Linked DNA regions of Homo sapiens: all the other regions are linked to region 2. Evidence: promoter capture Hi-C in 16 types of primary human blood cells and fetal thymus (Javierre and others, 2016). All regions are on one chromosome and are shown on one strand. The core of a region is centred on a gene start or on the middle of the fragment in contact, and the rest is flanking DNA. Distances in the headings are between cores, read along the strand shown. Region 1 overlaps HOOK3 (hook microtubule tethering protein 3). Region 2 holds the start of KAT6A (lysine acetyltransferase 6A). Region 3 overlaps GOLGA7 (golgin A7).

What was found. The method cuts DNA at HindIII sites, captures the fragments that hold promoters and counts their contacts. A CHiCAGO score of 5 or more calls a contact.
Region 1: a fragment that was not itself captured here is called in contact with the fragment with the promoter of KAT6A in region 2 in 1 of 17 cell types (fetal thymus); the score reaches 6.5 in fetal thymus.
Region 3: a contact is called between a fragment that was not itself captured here and the fragment with the promoter of KAT6A in region 2, in 1 of 17 cell types (neutrophils). The highest score is 8.0, in neutrophils.

Annotation. Positions count from the first base shown.
Region 1 is chr8:42,900,428-42,904,949 of GRCh38, forward strand. The region is part of intron 1 of HOOK3 (hook microtubule tethering protein 3); the gene reads left to right. Among named protein-coding and RNA genes, the nearest start is that of HOOK3, 5.7 kb to the left of the region's middle. The HindIII fragment of the contact is 6,491 bases long and covers 1-4,522 here.
Region 2 is chr8:42,049,643-42,053,553 of GRCh38, forward strand. KAT6A (lysine acetyltransferase 6A) reads right to left here and starts at 2,345. Exons shown (of 17, transcript NM_006766.5): 1 at 2,259-2,345. It overlaps KAT6A-AS1 (KAT6A antisense RNA 1), which reads left to right and starts at 2,108. Exons shown (of 2, transcript NR_136589.1): 1 at 2,108-2,343. RefSeq lists silencers at 1,439-1,908, 2,009-2,638, 2,829-2,988 and enhancers at 2,437-2,958, 2,959-3,479. The HindIII fragment of the contact is 5,822 bases long and covers 1,138-3,911 here.
Region 3 is chr8:41,495,261-41,499,411 of GRCh38, forward strand. It overlaps GOLGA7 (golgin A7), which reads left to right. Exons shown (of 5, transcript NM_001002296.2): 2 at 2,249-2,401. Among named protein-coding and RNA genes, the nearest start is that of GOLGA7, 6.8 kb to the left of the region's middle. The HindIII fragment of the contact is 6,770 bases long and covers 1-4,151 here.

The DNA of each region.
Region 1 (4,522 bases), core at 1,753-4,252, 850 kb after region 2:
CTCGGTACACTTTGGGATAACCTAGCAACATTAATATGTCCTTATTGTTTTCATATTACTTATTTGGCAGCCTATAAAATGCATACTAGTATATAGAATTGGGGGTGGTATAATTATTATGGTGGTATCTCCCCCATTCCATTCTCCTCTGCCTAACTCGATTCTGCCAACAATTTTTGTCCTCTAATGGAAGAATAAGTCACTGATGTACAAAAGTTAAAGTACTTAAAAAGATAGTATAGCATAAGAGTACATACAGGTTCTGACATTAGGCAGCCTGGGTTCAAATCCTAGTTTTGTTCTATACTAACTGATGTGACTTTGTAACTTCACCTCTGTGTTTTGATTGCATTGATATTTAACTTTATGTTTGCTAACTTCACCAGAGATTCTCATGCTTTAGTGTTGATCTGCATCATCTGGAGAGCTTGCTAAAACACAGATGCCCAGAGTTGCTAGTTCTGTAGGTCTGGGCTGGGCCTGAGATTTTGTATTTCTAATAGGTTCCCAGGTGATGCCATTGTTGGTGACATAGGGACCACATTTTGAGGACCATGGCTCTAGAAAATTATTTGACATTTTGCGCTGGACAGTTCTTTGCTGTGTGGGCACTGCACTATGCGCTATGTTTAATAGTAGCATCCCATTGCCTCAACCAGCTAGATGACAATAGCACCCAACTCACAGCCAAAAATGTCTCCTCGGGAGCAAAATTATCCATTGCTCTAGAGATAGTAATTCCAGGTGATCTCATGCTTTACTCTTCTCATGCTTTTGTTGGGGAGGGGGAGGTAGAGGTTGGGTGGTGGTAATAGAGCTTCTTGGAATTAAAAGAAAGATTATAACCCTTCAGGTAGAGTTTCATGCCTTAATGCAGTTAAGTGCAATTGTCTTTCAGTTTTATTGTACTGCTATCCTGAAATAGATGTTAGCTCAGAGAACTGGTATGTGACAGATTTTTAAAAATTAAGGTACGGTTTACATACCCATAAAATTCATCCTTTTAAAGTGTATAATTTTTTTGGTTTTTAGTATGATCACAAGATTGTGCAGTCATCATGACTATCTAGTTCCAAGAACATTTTCATCACCCCAAAAATAAACTAGGGGATAAATTTTCTTTAGGATCTGTTTCACTTTGGTCTTGCAGCAGAGGTGGACATCTCTGACCCTTATGAGCAACTATGTACCTCAAGGGCTAATACAGAGAAAATAATTGAATAAAGCCATGTTTTAAAAACAAAAATGAAAATTTAGCTTCCCTAAATCCCAAGAGAAAAAAACAAATCAAGTCTTTTTTTGGAGGTGGAGTCTTGCTCTGTTGCCCAGGCTGGAGTGCAGTGGCACAATCTCGGCTCACTGCAACCTCCACCTCCTGGGTTCAAGCAATTCTGCCTCAGCCTCCCTAGTAGCTGGGATTACAGGCACGCACCACCACGCCCGGCTAATTTTTGTATTTTTTAGTAGAGACGGGGTTTCACTATGTTGGTCAGGCTGGTCTTGAACTCCTGACCTCAAGATCCACCCGCCTCGGCTTCCAAATGTTCTGGGATTACAGGCGTGAGCCACCGTGCCAGGCCCAGATCAAGTCTTAACAACTAAGTTACTTGCTTTTTTGAATTACCTGCTTTGTTGAGTTGCTTCTTCTGATTGGCCAGAGGCTGTTTTCCAATCTTGCATCCCTTCCCTTTCATAGTGCTTTGGATCATAGGATTCCAAATGCCAAACCAGTGCCCAGCTGTGTAAGAATTATTTGATGAACTTGTTAAAAATAGATCCCCAGCTTCCTACACACAGATTCTGATTCAGTAGGGGGAGCCAAGAAATGTGTATTCTCTCTCTCTCTCTCTTTTTTTTTTTTTAAGACAGGGTCTCACTCTGTTGCCCAGGCTGGAGTGCCGTGGAGCAGTCACAGCTCACTGCAGTCCCGACCCCCCAGGCTCAAGTGATCCTCCCACCTCCGCCTCCTGAATAGCTGGGACTACAGGCGTGACCCACCATACCCAGCTAATTTTTGTATTTTTTGTAGAGACAGAATTTTGCCATGTTTTTCAGCATGGTCTCGAATTCCTGGGCTCAAGTGATCCTCCAGCTTTGACCTCCCATAGTGCTGAGGTAACAGGTATAAGCCACCACGCCCTGCCAAAATGTGTATTTTCAAACCCCCCCAGATGATTCCCCTACACACCAGGTTTGGGACCATTGCTTTAGACTTTGCAAAATACCTCATGGGCATTCATTTTCTCATTCATTCTGAAGCAACACACCCTTCTATAGGCTATTTTTCCCCAATCTTTCTTTATATGGAAAAACTGATATTGAGAGAGATGAAACATCCTGTCTAAATTTACAGGGCAAAACTAGGGATTAGAATTAGCTCCTTTCATTCAAAGTGGCGTCCACTGAGGGCTTGTTCGTATCAGGCATTGTGCTGAGGTCAGTGATAAAGAGAAGAATGAGACATAGTCCTCACTGCTGCCTCTATTTTTCCTTCTAAACAAACCTACAAGAAAGATTGGGTTTTCTTTTTTGAAAATGGGCCATTGACTTGGCAACTGTAGAATGGAAGCAAGTGCTTATTTCTTTTAAGTGCTTATTTCTTTTACTAATGAGCAGGCAGCTGGAGATAGTATGGAGTAAAATTCAAAATCAGTTCCCGCAGATGGTGTTTATTTGTTTCATGTATTCATTTACTAATCATTTATTGCACCTCTACCAGGTGTTTGGTTTGTGTCAGGGCAGCTTGGAAGGATCCTCTTATCAGCTTTCCCAAATAGACACTTAAGTAAAAACTTGCTATGAGGATCTTTAAGATAATTCCCTGGGCCTCTACCACCATAACCGTCTCTACCTGCAAAACTCTCCTGTATTATATACAAAGAAGCTACTGACTGTACTGTTAATAGTTGTCTTTTTTTTTTTTTTTTTTTTTTTTGAGACGGAGTCTCGCTCTGTGGCCCAGGTTGGAGTGCAGTGGCGCGATCTCGGCTCACTGCAAGCTCCACCTCCCGAGTTCCCACCATTCTCCTGCTTCAGCCTCCCGAGTAGCTGGGACTACAGGCGCCCGCCACAGCGCCCGACTAATTTTTTGTATTTTTAGTAGAGACGGGGTTTCACCGTGTTGGCCAGGATGGTCTCATCTCCTGACCTCGTGATCCACTCTCTTCGGCCTCCCAAAGTGCTGGGATTACAGACATGAGCCACCGTGCCCGGCCAATAGTTGTCTTTTAAAGATTTGATAAATGAGGTCGGGCGTGGTGGCTCAAACGCCTGTAATCCCAGCACTTTGGGAGGCTAAGGCGGGCGGATGACGAGGTCAGAGATGAGGACATCCTGGCCAACACGGTGAAACCCTGTCTCTACTTAAAATACAAAAAAGTTAGCCGGGCATGGTAGCGGGCGCCTGTATTCCCAGCTACTCGGGGGGCTGAGGCAGGAGAATGGCGTGAACCCGGGAGGCGGAGCTTGCAGTGAGCCGATATCGCGCCACTGCACTCCAGCCTGGGCGACAGAGTGAGACTCCGTCTGAAAAACAAAACAAAACAAAAAGATTTGATAAATGATACGGTGCGGAGAAGTAGCCACTCACCCACCGTTAGTAAGAGAATAAATTGCTACAGTATATATTTAGGGCAGTTTGACAGTTTTATCAAAAACCGTAAAATGTTCATACACTTTTTGACCTAGCAGTTTTACTTCTTTTCTAACCCAATAAATAAAAATTTGTGTGAAGACATATGGTCACCTGAGTGTTATTCCCAGTATTCTCATTGTCTGTACTGAGTTTAGCTTCATCCGTGTTAGTATATAAACCTACTCAAATGGGTCTTCCTGTCTCTTTCCCTCCACTCCTTCCTTCATACTGCAGCCGGTATGATCTTTTTTTTTTTTTTTTTTTTTGAGACGGAGTCTCGCTCTGTCGCCCAGGCTGGAGTGCAGTGGCATGATCTTGGCTCACTGCAACCTCCGCCTCCCGGGTTCAAGCGATTCTCCTGCATCAGCCTCCAGTGTAGCTTGGACTACAGGTGTGTGCCATCAGGCCTGGTTAATTTTTTGTATTTTTAGTGAAGAGACAGGATTTCACTGTGTTAGTCAGGATGGTTCTGATCTCCAGACCTCGTGATCCATCCGACTCCGCCTCCCAAAGTGCTGGGATTACAGGCATGAGCCACCGCCCCCGGCCAGATCTTATATTAATACAATGCAAACCTCATGGCTCACTCCCCTGGTTCAAATCCTTTGCTTACTTTATTCATAGAATAAGGTCCTAATGTGGCTTCTAAGGTTTTACATGTTAATTCTTCAGTTTTTTGCCCTGTCTTTCACCGTTTTAATTCTCCCCTGTTCTGTTTCTTCCTCCAATTCTTACCCCTACTCGATCTGTACCAAGCTGCTCTTCATACCTAAATTGCATCCCACTCTCACTTCTCATCTTTATGCCTGCTGTTGACACTTCTATTATACTGTTTCATTTTTCCTAGTTGTAAGTTCTATGAGAGGATGGCCTGTGTCTGTCTGTTCT
Region 2 (3,911 bases), core at 1,095-3,594:
CTTGACATCTTTCCCCAAGAAACTAGTCAGCACTTCAACAAGTATCTGGATTAGTAGAAAGAATCCTGCAATGAAAGTAAAAGTGAATCTTTCATCTTTCAAAATTCTAGACATTCAGAGTAGACAAAAACAGTCAATAAGGCAGAAAACGACTGAGAAAATTTTAGTTCTTACATGAAAAGAATGAATACAATATGCACACCCAGTTTATAATTTAAGTACAGTATTACCTTAATCTCTCCTAATGGAAACAAAAATACTATTGAAAATAGCCTAGAGTAAAAGTGCTTACTGAATTTAACAATAATCCACTTTCATTCAAATTTTAAGAATTACATGCTGATAGCTTCTCCTAACCCAAACTAAGATGTTTCTATTCATATGCTGAAGAGAGTCACAACTGTCAAACTGCGTGTAAGTAATTCAGACAGGAAAACTAGAAATGAGGAAGGCCCAGAATCACTGGGGTCAACGCACATACTACATATCAAACGGACGGTACAGAAAAAGAAATACACTGGCTACTTGTAGGACTAAAGAGAAGCCCAAATAATAAAGATATAAATTCAAGATTGCTGTCCTGAAACGAACATTAATAAAACATAAACAGAAATGTACTGTCTCTCTGAATCAAAGTCAGTATCCCTATAAAAGAATCTGGTAGATGCAATCTTGTTTAATCACTAAAGTACTGAATTCTGAATCTAACTCTTTTGCCTCCAAAAATAAGTTTAACTGAAGTGTTTTTTAGAACTTCTGCTCTCATTCTGGAGATCATTTGCATTACAATATAAACAATGCTAGACAAATGGCTCCCACAGCAACTATTCTTGGTAGTGACATTAAAATCAAACGGAAAACTAATACACACTAGGAAAGAGATATTACTATTAACTCTGATAGGAAAGAAAAGAGTGAAGCAAACATTCAAACCTGAGCCAAGATTTGTTTTTAAATCAGCTGCCTAAAAAGAAGCCCCCTGGGAGAATCATGCTTCAATTTGGTGAGGGTCTCAAGAGGATAGAAATCAGAGTATCATTACTCCAAGTAAGCTCATTATACAGATATTAAGTCTAAACTAAATGAGAAGCTACATCCTGAGTTTAACAAGCTGGGAACGAACGTCCTAATTGACTAAGCTTCGCAGGTAAAAGAATGAGTGACAGTCACTCATTGTCTTTCCAGTCGGGATTGTCATCAGTCTCCAGGTCTTCGGAAAGTCAAGCGCCTGCAGCCTCGGATCTTAACTCCCGGAAAGTACACGAGCGGCTAGAGCGAGCGCAACTCGCTTCCGACAGTCCTTCCCGTCCCCATTCCCCACCCCTAAACACGTCTTCGCGCTCTCTTTTCAAAGAGCGAGAAACTTTAAAAACTTGGATCTGCACAGCCCGGCAGCTCGCCGACGGGGCGCTGCACCGTTTCCACGCGATGGAAACAGACCCCGAGCACAAGTTAACAATGAAATCACGTGAAGGAGTTCAGAGCGGTGCATAGCCCCGGCCCAGCTCCGCACCCTAAGCTCTGGGGGCCGGCTCGAGGGCGGCGCGGGTTGCTGGGAGCCTGACAGTCGCGCACCGGGCCAAGCCGCGAGGTTGACAGGCGCCCGGCCTCCCCTCGGCGGCTGGGCTGACAGCCCGGCAGACACAACACCACACGTGCTGCGCCTCGCACCACAACACCCGCCGGCCTGTCAGCCCCGCTCGCCGCCTCAGCCCCGCTCGGATCCCCGCGCCCCCGGCCGGAGCCAAAGCCGGAGCCGGAACCCGAGCCCGAGCCCGAACCCGAGCGCCCGCGAGCGCGGGGAGAAGCGGCCCGGCCCGGCACAGCCGGCACGCGCGCGGCGGGCGGGTGGGCGCGCCCCGAGGGAGAGCGGGCTCGCCGGCTCCGCCAGCCCGAGGCTCCGCGGCCTGGGCCGCTCGCCGCCCGCCCACCCGCCGGCTCCCCCAGGGCGGGCCCGGCCGGCGGGATCGGGGGCGCGGGGCCCGCGAGCGCGGGGCCGGGCGGCGGCGCGCGGGCCGCGGGCCGGGGCAGCCGGGCGCCGAACAAGCGAGCAAGCGAGCGAGCGAGCGGGCGGGCGCGAGGGGGCGGCCACGGCGCCCCAGCCCGAGGCCTGGCGCAGAGCAGCGGGAGGCGGCGCAGGCCGCGGCGGGGCCTGCAGCGGCCCGCCGACCCCGCGAGGCAGCGGAGTGGGCCCTGGAGCGGCTCGGCCTCGGGCTGGGCGGCCGGGGGCGGCCGGGAACGGCCCCTCGGCTACTTACCGGGAGGAAGGACAGCCGAGATCCCGGGGCCCCGGGCCGGACCGCGGAGATGCCCCAAACTGACACGGCCGCCATCTTGGAGACAGTGAGCTCCAGCCGGGGGGAGGGGAGGCAAGGCGGCGGAACAGCCGCGGGGGGAGGGGAGCGTCGCGAGGGAACGGCGGCCTGGGGGAGGGAGCTGGAAGAGCCTGGGCGGGCGGCGAGGGGAGGCGGAGGCCCGGCAGCGCGGGTGGGGGGCGGCCGAGAGCGGGAAGAGCTGGGCCGAGAGCCGGGAAAGGCCGGAGGGCGGGGCGGGGCAGCAGGGAAGAGCCGGCCGGCGGGGTCACGTGGGGCCGGTACAAAAGGCCAAAGCCAGGGGAGGAGGAGGACTTGGTGGGGCTGGAGGCTGGGGAGCGGGGGTTCCTCCTCTCCCGTCTCACGCGTTTAAGTCAGACGGCGACCCGGGAGAGGAGGAGCTGGTGCACCCCATGCCACCGCTGGGGAAACTGAGGGCAGGAGTCTGGGTGGGGTGGCTTCAGTGTGGCACGGAAATCCGGCAGCCACGCAGGATGGGAACTCTCGGCGGCGTCTGTTTACAGTTAGTGAGCCCTCCCTCCCCACTCATTTGCCTGCACAGCGACTTTCCGGAGCCCGAGGGCGGGGCCTGGGGGGCGGAGAGGAGGCGGCTTCCCGTCCTCACCCCTGGCAGCTCGCCTCAGCCCCCGACGGCTCTCCTGTGTCGGTGGGAAGAGTTGGGGAGAGGGTGGAACCAGAAGCACCCGTCTTAACCCCTTTCAGCAGTGACTTCATTTCTTCCCTCCCCCAGCAGCTGAGAGGGTTCTTGGAGCTCACTAGAGCCATTTTATGGGAGACTCCACAGACCTGGGTCGTGTGACTTGGACAAGGTCACACAGCTAGTATGTGGCGCGCACCTGAGCCTGGGACTGAGATTTGTCTTATTCCAAAGCCGGTCTTCCCTTCTTGCCCTGTGCGGAACTCTTGTCCATACTTAGGGCGTTGGAACCACGAGCAGGCGGTTCTTCATGGCCTGCCTGTCCACTACTGGCTGTATGGACGTTTCTTTGTCTTGCCTTTCATCTACTTTAAACTCTTTGATGCAGAGACTGAGTCATACTTTTTTTTTTTTTTTTGAGACAGTGTCGCTCTGTTGCCCAGGCTGGAGTGCAAGTGGTGCGATCTTGGCTCACTGCAACCTCCGTCTCCTGGGTTCAAGCGATTCTCCTACCTCATCCTCCTGAGTAGCTGGGACTGCAGGCGCCCGCCACCACGCCTGGCTTATTTTTGTATTTTTAGTAGAGACGGGGTGTCACTATGTTGGCCAGGCCGCTGGTCTCGAACTCCTGACTTCAAGTGATCCGCCCTCTTCGGCCTCCCAAAGTGCTGGGATTACAGGCCTGAGACACTGCACCTGGCCAAGTCATGCATTTTTTTTTTTTCTGCATTCACTAGAAAGACAGTAGACATGAAAAAGACACTAAATGTTTAATCGTTGACATGGACGTGTATCCTGCTGCCTGACCTTTATCTGCCCTGTCCCCAACCCCATACGACACACCCCGCCTAGACTGTCGCCCGCAATACCTCATTTTATCTCAGCTTTAGCTTTTAAGGGCCTCCCTCTCACCCACTGCCTTAACTTCCATGCTGACTTCC
Region 3 (4,151 bases), core at 42-2,541, 560 kb before region 2:
CATACTGTATGTTGAGGGTTTTTTTTCTTTCTTTCTTTTTTTGAGACAGGGTCTCACTCTGTCACCCAGACTGGAGTGCAGTGGTGAGATCTCAGTTCACTGCAACCTCCACTTCCCAGGCTCCAGCAATCCTCCCACCTCAGCCTCCTGAGTAGCTAGGACTATAGGCATGCACCACCACGCCTGGCTAATTTTTGCATTTTTAGTAGAGACAGAGTTTCACCATGTTGCCCAGGCTGGTCTCAAACTCCTGAGCTCAAGTGATCCACCCAGCTCAACTTCCCAAGTGCTGGGATTACAGGAATGAGCCACCACGCCAGCCTGATTTTTTTTTTTCTGAGTCGGTTTCTATTATAAAGAAAGATTTAATAGGTTCACAGAGACAGGAAAGGAGAAAAAAAAAAAGCCAAACAAAAAAGTCTTTTAAATAAGGACTTCATAAAAGAGAGAATTCATACGTAAGTAGTTATTAATTTTAGAAATAAGGGAATCCTTATGCGAGAGAAGGCCTAGAGTGCAGACAGATAAGAATGGCAGTATTGGATGATTGCTCTCCTAATGGGCCTTGAAAGTCCTGGGATGAAGTAGCAAAATTTGAAATCTGTTATACAAAGTACTATTAGAAGACAGTAAAGTAATATTGGAAGAATAAAGTAAAAGCAGATGATTGAGTGAAACAATGGATGACAGTACAGGTTCTTTCTTATGTGAAATATGTGGAACCAGAAGTATTTCAGTTTTTGGGGTTTTTTTAGATTTTGAAATATTTGTTTATACTAATGAGATATCTTGGGAATGGGATCCAAGTCTAAACACGAAATTCATTATGTTTTATATCCACCTTATACATATAACCTGAAGGTAATTTTATACAATATTTTAAATGACTTTATGAGACAAAGTGTGTGTACACTGAACCATCTTATCACCCTTTGTGAGCACGCTTGCATGGGAGAATCTGGCTGTGCATGGAAAAGATACATGGCAGCTGATGGGGGCTGGAAGGGTCTTTTTCTCTTGGGGACACTGAATAAACTATGTGTTGTGCGCCTGCATTTTGACTGTGACCCCTCACATGAGGTCGGGTTTGGAATTTCCCACTTGTGGTATCATGTCAGTGCTCAAAAGTTTCAGATTTTGGAGCCTTTCTGACTTCAGAATTTAAGATCAGGGATGCTCAACCTGTGGTAGTATTAGTGTAAATTTAAGATAATGGTGTCACCAAATAGAAAGAGGTAATAAGAATGACTTAATGTGAAAAATTGTTTATTAGCTTGAGATTTTACCTTAACAAATTTTACCTTATTTAGTAACAAGATAATTGCTTCAAAAGAGATAGGCTGAGTAAACAGAATATAGAACCTACGCCTTTTGATCCTTCTGCTAAAATGCCATTTTTTTTTTTTTTGCCTAGTAAATTCCAGTCTTTAGTTACTCAATTTAAGATTACCTGCCCTTCCCAGATAAAGGGAATTTCTCCTTGCTTTTGTGTCCCCACTAGGCTTTATATTTGCCTATATGATAGTACCCTGTCAGTTTATTGCTTTTTTTTTTTTTTTTTTTTTGAGACGGAGTCTCGCTCTGTCACCCAGGCTGGAGTGCAGTGGCGCAGTCTCGGCTCACTGCAAGCTCCACCTCCCGGGTTCACGCCATTCTCCTGCCTCAGCCTCCCCAGTAGCTGGGGCTATAGGCACCCGCCACCATGCCCGGCTAATTTTTTTTGGTATTTTTAGTAGAGACGGGGTTTCACCATGTTAGCCAGGATGGTCTCCATCTCCTGACCTCGTGATCCGCCCACCTCAGCCTCCCAAAGTGCTGGGATTACAGGCATGAGCCACCGCACCTGGCCAGCTTACTGCATTTTTATGTTTACATTGCCTGTTCTGCTTGCATAATTAAACTCTTAAGGATTGAGACAGTGCTTTATCTTGAGATTTTTCATAGTATCTGATAGTAGGCGCTCAGTAAGTGTGAAACTAAATGAATGGAAAGAGGAATAGAGCCTAAAGTTACTTGAAATTTAGTAGAAAGAATAAAGAAGTACCTTATTGAGCCTTGAAGCTATCCAGTATTTATAAGAGGGATAAAATTAAACAAATTAAGCAGTTTTGGTAACTTAGGCCCAGATTTAGTCACCAAAAAAATTGTCAACTAAGAATGGTGAGAAAACAAGATAAATTAATGATAGCATGCATTAGTTGATTTTTTTTTTCCAAAACTTAATTTTTAAATATTTTCTTCTCTACAGATTGATAGGCAGCAGTTTGAAGAAACAGTTCGAACTCTAAATAACCTTTATGCAGAAGCAGAGAAGCTCGGCGGCCAGTCATATCTCGAAGGTTGTTTGGCTTGTTTAACAGCATATACCATCTTCCTATGCATGGAAACTCATTATGAGAAGGTAATGCTACATTTGTTTTCACAAAAATCTCTTAAAATCATGAAGAAGGCAAGTTTATTACACATTGATGCTTACATGGTGATAGTTGCCGTAAAATATTTAGGGGCATTTATCATTCAAATTGTGTTGTTCCTGTGTACAGAGGCACATAGTCCTGAGTCTTTCAAAACAGGTTGCAGTTGGTATGTCCACTTGCAGATGATGTGTCAATGTTCAGACTGGCCTACACTTAAGAAGAATGTAGAAAATCTATATGTTCTCTTCCTACTCAGCTTTCTGGGAATGTTTTTACTTTATTTCCCTAAATTTCACTCTCTTCTCCCACCTGAGTTCTTACTTTCTCTTTCCAGCTGCCTACTAGCTCCCGAATTGCTGATTTCTCAACTTAAGATGACCAGAAGTCAAACCTCCCACCTCCCCATTTTGTCAATAGCACCCCTGTCTTTTCAGTACCATCTTTGGGCATGAGGGATGAAGAAGAGGGAAAAATTAATCTGTTTTCAAAGACTGAAGTATCTTTCATTTTCCCAGTCATTAACTTTTTGTGATTTCCTCTGCCACTATCCTGGGTTATGCCCTTATTCTGTCTCTCCTAGACTATTGAAATAGTCTGACTTGTCTCATTTCTTCCCTCCTTTTGCTTTTCTAAACTATCTGCTGTTGTTTTTATAAAGCGCAGATTTACTTCCCCTACTACTTCTGCCAAGTCGGAGACCTTCCCTGGATTCCCATGTTTTACCACTGAGTAAAATTCAAGGCCCTGCTCAAGTTGACCTCAGCTTACCTTTCCAGCGCTACCTCCCATTCCTTCCTTCACTTTCTCCCTCAGCCAAACTCCATCCCTCACTGGTCAGCAAACATACCCACTGTGGTTCTCCTCCACCTGGAATGCTATCTTCCCAGGTTCAAATCCCACCAGTCCCTTAGGTCTCACTTCCATCTAACTTGTTCTCTGTTTTAGTCAGAATTCTTTCTCTTCTCTTGTGTCCCTACAACATTTTATTTGTATCTGTTTTCTGGCACTTGCCTCACTCTTCTTTGGAATGTAGCAGTTTATTTTCTTGTCTTATTTGCCTTTCAAGTATGTACTTTTCTTGAGGACAATGCCTTAACCATTTTGTATCCCTCTTCATGCCTAACACCATGCTTTGGGTATATCAGGCACTCATTGAATGTATGTTAAATAAATGACTGTAAATTAATCATGGTAAGCCCCTGGTATATCACTAAATTCTGACAGTGCTTAGAAAACGAAATGCTATAAGAATATATTATGACCCATCTGATAGAAATGTCTTACACTCCATGTAGTGGAGAGTGCATATAGTTGCAGCTAAAGTTTTTGGAGCTGTTGGCTGAAAATGCTGTTGTATTCTTCATTACCATCCTGTTCCATCTCATATAAACAGGTATATTTAAGTATAGTTATTTATATCCTTCCCCATGTTGAAACAGGAAAAGTTCTCTTGTCCCCCTCGCAGGGCGTGTGATGGGGTGTGGCTTGCTTCTTCAGTACCCTGCTGCTCAAACCTCTAGGAGAGCATACAGATGGGCAGGCTGTGGGGCTCCAACCCCACAGCAGTGTCTAGGGGTGAATGTTTTACAGCTCCTGAAGCCCCAGTGGGCATATGTTACAGGGTGCTCTTTTAGTTTAGCCATCCATAGGCGGCTTGTGTTAGCTCAATTAGACCCCTGCCTTATCACAAGGGCAGAGGGCTTTCTGTATCCCAGAGTTCTTGCCTTGGTGTAC